2 separate regions of the Homo sapiens genome follow, and region 1 is linked to region 2. The links are contacts of gene promoters, found by promoter capture Hi-C in human tissues and cell types (Jung and others, 2019). All regions are on one chromosome and are shown on one strand. The core of a region is centred on a gene start or on the middle of the fragment in contact, and the rest is flanking DNA. Distances in the headings are between cores, read along the strand shown.

The links. The method cuts DNA at HindIII sites, captures the fragments that hold promoters and counts their contacts. A contact is called where the count stands out against the background at its distance.
Region 1: a fragment that was not itself captured here is called in contact with the fragment with the promoter of NPLOC4 in region 2 in 2 of the 25 tissues and cell types used here (dorsolateral prefrontal cortex and thymus).

The regions. Positions count from the first base shown.
Region 1 is chr17:81,350,252-81,353,720 of GRCh38, reverse strand. No RefSeq gene overlaps it. Among named protein-coding and RNA genes, the nearest start is that of RENO1, 6.0 kb to the right of the region's middle. The HindIII fragment of the contact is 3,176 bases long and covers 323-3,469 here.
Region 2 is chr17:81,635,636-81,639,441 of GRCh38, reverse strand. It overlaps NPLOC4 (NPL4 homolog, ubiquitin recognition factor), which reads left to right and starts at 2,330. Exons shown (of 17, transcript NM_017921.4): 1 at 2,330-2,526. The coding sequence starts at 2,512. TSPAN10 (tetraspanin 10) reads right to left here and starts at 2,246. Exons shown (of 4, transcript NM_001290212.2): 1 at 2,036-2,246. RefSeq lists a silencer at 2,391-2,600. The HindIII fragment of the contact is 41,196 bases long and covers 1-3,806 here.

The sequences.
Region 1 (3,469 bases), core at 661-3,160, 290 kb after region 2:
GCTGCAGTGGCTGACGCCTATAATTCCAGCACTTTGGAGGCCGAGGCAGGTGGATTACTTGAGATCAGGAGTTTAAGACCAGCCTGGCTGGCTGGGCGTGGTGGCTCACGTCTGTAACCCCAGCACTCTGGGAGGCCGAGGTGGGCCGACCATGAGGTCAGGAGATCAAGACCATCCTGGCCAACATGGTGAAATCCCGTCTCTACTAAAAATACAAAAATAAGCCAGACGTGGTGGCGTGCGCCTATAGTCCCAGCTCCTTGGGAGGCTGAGACAGGAGAATCGCTTAAACCCGGGAGGCAGAGGTTGCAGTGAGCCGAGATGGCGCCACTGCACTCCAGCCTAGGCGACAGGGCAAGACTCCGTTTCCAAAAAAAGATATCTGCAACAATCGCAGCATGATTTGAGTCATTTTAGTTATTTTAGTTATGTCATACATTCATCACTGAAGGAAATGTCAAATTTTGGTTAGAGACCAGTGAAAATAAATAATGAGTTGGGGCTGATTAGAAAAAAAAAGAAAGTGGGGCGGGGTGAGGTGGCTCATGTCTGTAATCCCAGCACTTTGGGAGGTCAAGGAGGGAGGATCACTTGAGGCCAGGAGTTTCAGACCAGCCTGGAAAACATAGCAAGACCTCATCTCTACAAAGCAAACATGAAAAATTAGCTGGGTGTAGTGGCTCAAACCCTCTGGTCCCAGCTACTTGGGAGGCTGAGGTGGGAGGATTGCGTGACCCTGGGAGGTGGAGGCTGCAGTGACTCCTGTGCTGTACTACAGTGACCCTGCTGCTGTACTCCCTGTCTCAAAACACTCCACAAAACCAAACGAGCCCAATTTTTTATTTATTTATTTATTTATTTTTGAGACGGAGTCTTGCTCTGTCACCCAGGCTGGAGTACAGTGACGCGATCTCGGCTCACTGCAAGCTCCGCCTCCTGGGTTCACGCCATTCTCCTGCCTCGGCCTCCCAAGTAGCTGGGACTACAGGCGCCCGCCACCACGCCCGGCTAATTTTTTGTATTTTTAGTAGAGATAGGGTTTTACCGTGTTAGCCAGGATGGCCTCGATCTCCTGACCTCGTGATCCACCCGCCTCGGCCTCCCAAAGTGCTGCGATTGAGAGGTGACAGCGTGTGGCAGTCCTCACAGCCCTCGCTCGCTGTCGGCGCCTCCTCTGCCTGGGCTCCCACTGGCGGCACTTGAGGAGCCCTTCAGCCCGCCGCTGCACTGTGGGAGCCCCTTTCTGGGCTGGCCAAGGCCGGAGCCGGCTCCCTCAGCTTGCGGGGAGGTGTGGAGGGAGAGGCGCGAGAGGGAACTGGGGCTGCGTGCGTCGCTTGCGGGCCAGCTGGAGTTCCGCGTGGGCTTGGCGGGCTCCGCACTCGGAGCAGCCGGCCGGCCCTGCCAGCCCCGGGCAATGAGGGGCTTAGCACCCGGGCCAGCGGCTGCGGAGGGTGTGCTGGGTCCCCCAACAGTGCCGGCGCACCGGCGCTGCGCTGGATTTCTCGCCAGGCCTTAGCTGCCTTCCCGTGGGGCAGAGCTGGGACCTACAGCCTGCCATGCCTGAGCCTCCCGTCCCCGCCCCGCGCCCCCCACCCGTGGGCTCCTGTGCAGCCCGAGCCTCCCCGACGAGCGCCACCCCCTGCTCCACGGCGCCCAGTCCCATCGACCACCCAGGGGCTGAGGAGCGTGGGCGCACGGCGCGGGATTGGCAGGCAGCTCCACCTGCAGCCCCAGTGCGAGATCCACTGGGTGAAGCCAGCTAGGCTCCTGAGTCTAGTGGGAACTTGAAGAACTTTATGTCTAGCTAAGGGATTGTAAATACACCAATCGGCACTCTGTATCTAGTCCAAGTTTTGTAAACACACCAATCAGCACCCTGTGTCTAGCTCAGGGTTTGTGAATGCACCAATCGACACTCTGTATCTAGCTACTCTGGTGGGGCCTTGGAGAACCTTTGTGTAGACACTCTGTATCTAGCTAATCGGGTGGGGACGTGGAGAACCTTTGTGTCTAGCTCAGGGATTGTAAACACACCAATCAGTGCCCTGTCAAAACAGACCACTGGGCTCTACCAATCAGCAGGATGTGGGTGGGGCCAGATAAGAGAATAAAAGCAGGCTGCCCGAGCCAGCAGTGCCAACCTGTTCTGGTCTGCTTACACGCTGTGGAAGCTTTGTTCTTTCGCTTTTTGCAATAAATCTTGCTACTGCTCACGCTTTGGGTCCACACTGCCTTTATGAGCTGTAACACTCACCCCGAAGGTCTGCAGCTTCACTCTTGAAGCCAGCGAGACCACGAGCCCACCGGGAGGAAGGACAACTCCAGACGCGCTGCCTTAAGAGCCGTAACACTCACCGCGAAGGTCCGCAGCTTCACTCCTGAGCCAGCGAGACCACGAACCCACCAGAAGGAAGAAACTCCGAACGCATCTGAATATCAGAAGGAACAAACTCCAGACACGCCGCCTTTAAGAACTGTAACACTCACCGTGACGGTCCACGGCTTCATTCTTGAAGTCAGTGAGACCAAGAACCCACCAATTCCAGATACAGGATTACAAGTGTGAGCCACCGTGCCCGGCCTCTATTTATTTTTTATAATTTTTGAGACAGAGTCTTACTTTGTTGTCCAGGTTGGAGTGCAATGACGCAGTCCTGGCTCACTGCAACTTCTGCCTCCCGGATTCAAGTGATTCTCCTGCCTCAGCCTCCTGAGTAGCTGGGATTACAGGCACCCGCCACCACGCCCAGCTCATTTTTGTATTTTTAGTAGGGACAGGGTTTCACCATGTTGGTCAAGCTGGTCTCAAATGCCTGACCTCAAGCAATCCACCCGCCTTGGCCTCCCAAAATGCTGGGATTACAGGCGCGAGCCACTGTGCCCAGCCCCAAAGCTTATTTTTATTTGTTCACATGAATGCAGTTTTCTTGGTTATTATTTCTGAATCTTCTTGTAAATTTTTGAATACTACCTAAAATTATGAGGAAGGAAGCAAAAATCTGAGTTCACTTCCCCAGATTCTTTTTTTAAAGAACAAAATCTCTTTTCTCTCTGAAGCTATTACTGGTGTTTTTGAACACTGTGTGTTCTGAAACTCTTGCTCAGTGCAAGTTACACAACTGTAGCAAATAGACCCCAAACGTAGCTGCCCATGCCAGCCCGCGGCTTATTTATCCCTGACCTGCCCAAGCAAGTGCTCCTGCGGGGTGGGGCCTGGTTGGGCCCCAGGCTGAAGGCTGCCCTGTCATCTTGCACATTTGTCTTCCACAGTCTCTCTGATGTGCCCATTTCAGCCATCAGAAGGGGGAACCCTAAAAGCCTCCTGGAAGGGTGACCTGCTCCTGAAACTGGTGCACACTGCTTCTGCCAGATTCTGTTGGACACCACGGTTACCCAGCCACACCTACTGCGAGGGAGCCTGGGAATGCAGACCAGCCAGGGGCCCCATGAGAAGGGGTAACGGCTTCTG
Region 2 (3,806 bases), core at 1,081-3,580:
GAGGTCAGGAGATCGAGACCAGCCTTACCAACATGGTGAAACCCTGTCTCTACTAAAGATATAAAAATTAGCCGGGCGTGGTAGCGCACGCTTGTAATCTCAGCTACTCAGGAGGCTGAGGCAGGAGAATCGCTTGAACCCACGAGGCGGAGGTTGCAGTGAGCTGGGATCGCGCCATTGCACTCCAACCTGGGCGACAGAGGGAGATCCGACTCAAAAAAAAAAAAAAAAAAAAAGAAAAGTAATTCCAAACCACCACCCAGTCTGTGAGAGATTTTGTTATGTTATATTTTCTTATAACTGAGATAATTATTACAGTTAAAGAGATCGGACTTAACTGAACCCATCTTGCTTCTAACCTCCAAGCTGTCCTTGTTCATTCCTGGGTGTAGGCTGAAATAACTTCGGGAGGCGCTTAGTTTATAGTTTAGCTTTGAAACAAAGATGGTAACAGCCCTTTGCAAAACAAACTCCCTTCCTACCTGGGGACAAGACTGCCTTTTCAGGACTAACAAATTAGCCATAAGATTAGAAATTATGGTTTAGGAGTCATGTAGCTGGAGGCTACAAGATTCTAAACCTCCCAAATTGCTTCTCAGGATAACATCACTATTAAAAAACAGATCAGCGCTTGAGATATTTTGCAGACTCTGCACTCCATGGATCAGCTGGCACCACCCAGATTGATAAACTGGCTCATATCTTGTGGCCCCCACCCAGGAACCGACTCAGCACAAGAGGACAGTTTTGACTCCCTATCATTTCACCTCTGACCCAACCAATCAACACTCCCTACTTTCTGACCCCATACCCACCAAATTATCCTTAAAACCGCGGATCCCCAGCCGGGCACGGTGGCTCACGTCTATAGTCCCAGCACTTTGGGGAGGCCCAGGTGGGCGGATCACCTGAGGTCAGGAGTTCAAGACCAGCCTGACCAACATGGAGAAACTCCGTCTCTACGAAAAATACAAAATTAGCCAGGCATGGTAGTGTGCGCCTGTAGTCCCAGCTACCCGGGAGGCTGAGGCAGGAGAATCACTGGAACCCAGGAGGTGAAGGTTGCAGTGAGCCGAGATCGCGCCACTGCACTCCAGTGTGGGTGACAGAGTGAGATTCGGACTCAAAAACAAAAAAAAACAAAAAACAAAAAACTCTGATCCCTGAATTCTCAAGGACACTAATTTTTTTTGAGTAGTAATAAAACCTCAGTAACCTGTACAAGCTGGCTCTGTGTGAATTAAACTCTTTATTGCAATTCCCCTGTCTTGATAAAGTCTAGGCAGTGGGCAGGGACAATATGTTGGGTAGTTACAGTGGCACCCTGAGCAAACTAATACAATTACTAACATAATTTAATCAATTAATGTAATTTAACATAGTTTAAAAAAACTGTCACAGTAATTGTGATGTTGTGAAATATGTATACATTTAGTCTTCCGGTTTCCTGGTATCCAACTCCAAAAATCCTTAGAATCTGTGAAGTGACGTCTTTTTTTTTTTTTTTTGAGATGAAGTCTCACTCTGTCGCCCAGACTGGAGTGCAGTGGCACCAACTCAGTTCATTCTAACCTCCGCCTCTTCGCTTCAAGAGATTCTCCGGCCTCAGACTCCCGAGTAGCTGGGATTACAGGTGCCCGCCACCACGCCCAGTTAATTTTTGTATTTTTAGTAGAGACGGGGTTTCACCACGTTGGTCAGGCTGGTCTTGAACTCCTGACCTCAGGTGATCCACCTGCCTCGGCCTCCCAAAGTGCTGGGATTACAGGCGTGAGCCACCGCGTATGGCCTAATTTTGTATTTTGAGTAGAGACGGGGTTTCACCATTTTGGCCAGGCTGGTCTCGAACTTTTGACCTCAGGTGATCCGTCCACCTTGGCTTCCCAAAATGCTGGGATTACAGGTATGAGCCACCGCGCCCGGCCTGAAATGCAGTTTAAACTCGTTTGTTTTTCTTATGTTAAATTTAAAAAATACTTAAAAAAAAAAACATGAAGGTGTGATCCTGCCTTCCTGAAATTGTTTCTCTACTTACCTGTGCATGGAGAGAAGTTTGGAATGCTGTTTCCCCAATTATAATACGCTATAATACGCAGCAGTAGTTATTTTTGGGTGAGACTTCGGATGCTCGTCTTTGCTTCCTTTTTGGACTTTCCTGTGCCGCTTGGGTTTCCGAGGACGAGCAGAAGTAATCTCAGACGCAACTTTCCAAAATCCCCTCCTCCAGTTGCAGGGATGGCGGGGGCGGGTCAGCGGCGCCGCCCTGCGCATGCGTCGAGCCGTTGGTGGGGCCGGAACCTGGTTTCCCGGCCTCGCGCCCGAGGGGAGCGTATTGAGCGAGGCACCGGGACGTCGGCGGCTGGCGGAGCCGGGCGGGCGAAGCTGGAGCGGCGGTGGCGGCGGCGTAGGGAGGCCGGGGCCGGGGCTGAGGCCGCGGCCGGGTCTGCGAGGCCCTTGGGGCGGCAGGCGGCGGCGGCCCGGGGCTCGAGCCCGGAGGCAGGAGCAGCCGCCATGGCCGAGAGCATCGTGAGTGCGGCGGCCGGGCGGGAGCGGGGACGCCGGGATGAGGCAGCAGATTTGCCGGCCTCGGCCTGTGGGGGAGGCGGGCCTGCCGGCGCCGCGACTCGGCCCCTTTCTCTTCTCTCGCCAGGGCTTTCTCTGTAGTGGCTGGGCCCCTCTCGGGGACTTTCACCCCCCTCGGCTGCTTCCCGTCCGTGTCCCTCCCCAGGGGACTTACGACCCCGGTTCCCCGCCCTGGGCAGGGAAAGGCCGAGCCTTTCTAAGCAGGGAGAATGGACTGTGGCGAAGAGAAACCGCCCTCCTTCCCCACCCGTTTCCCGGCTCCAGGAGACTTCCTGGTCTAATTCCAGGGACTCCCAGCCAGTCCTGCCCCTCTCAGAGCCAGGGACACCTCTTATCCTAATCTCCCTCTGATTCTCTCCTCCTGCTCTCCCGCTTCCCAGCAAGTGCCTTGTCATGAGTCACTAAGGAGAGCAGCTCTGCAGACGGGGACGTTACAGAGCTCCCTCCCCACCAGAAGACCTGGGAAAATGAAAACACAGTAACTTGCCGGCTTTGCTCCTTACTTGGAAGGACAACTTGACAATTCCTCTTTAAAAGGAATGTTGTAAATGATGTTGATTTCACTTTTTACCTGAAATTGAAATTGTCGGCCCGGCGCAGTGGCTCACGCCTGTGATGTCAGCACTTTGGGAGGCCGAGGCGGGTGGATCACCTGGGGTCAGGAGTTCGAGACCATCCTGGCCAACATGGCAAAATCTTGTCTCTACTAAAAATACAAAAAATTAGCCGGGCGTCATGGCGCACTGTAATCCCAGATACTTGGGAGGCTGAGGCAGGAGAATTGCTTGAACGCGGGAGGTGGAGGTTACAGTGAGCTGAGATCCCTCCATGGCACTCCAGCCTGGGCTATAGAGCGAGACTGCGTCTCAAAAAAAAAAAAAAAATTGTCACACACTCCTCCTTAACGTAAAAAATATCAGTGACAAATCAGAAAACCAGTCCCTCGTTAAGTTGTGAGAAGTTTCTTCCCAAAAGTAAATGTGATGGGAAAAAAACTAACTGACCATTGGACAGGAGCATTTTGGTTAATATTAAGGAAGATTTGGGATTTCTGGGGGAAGCTTAGCAGTATTGGGTGAAGAGTAATGTTCATACTGTAGCATTGTGACAGTCTCTGCAGTTTTGCCAGGTGTTGTCTAGAATAGGTCTCCAGGCCCGGCGCGGTGACTCACACCTGTAATCCCAGCACTTTGGGAAGCCCAGGTGGGTGGATCACCTGAGGT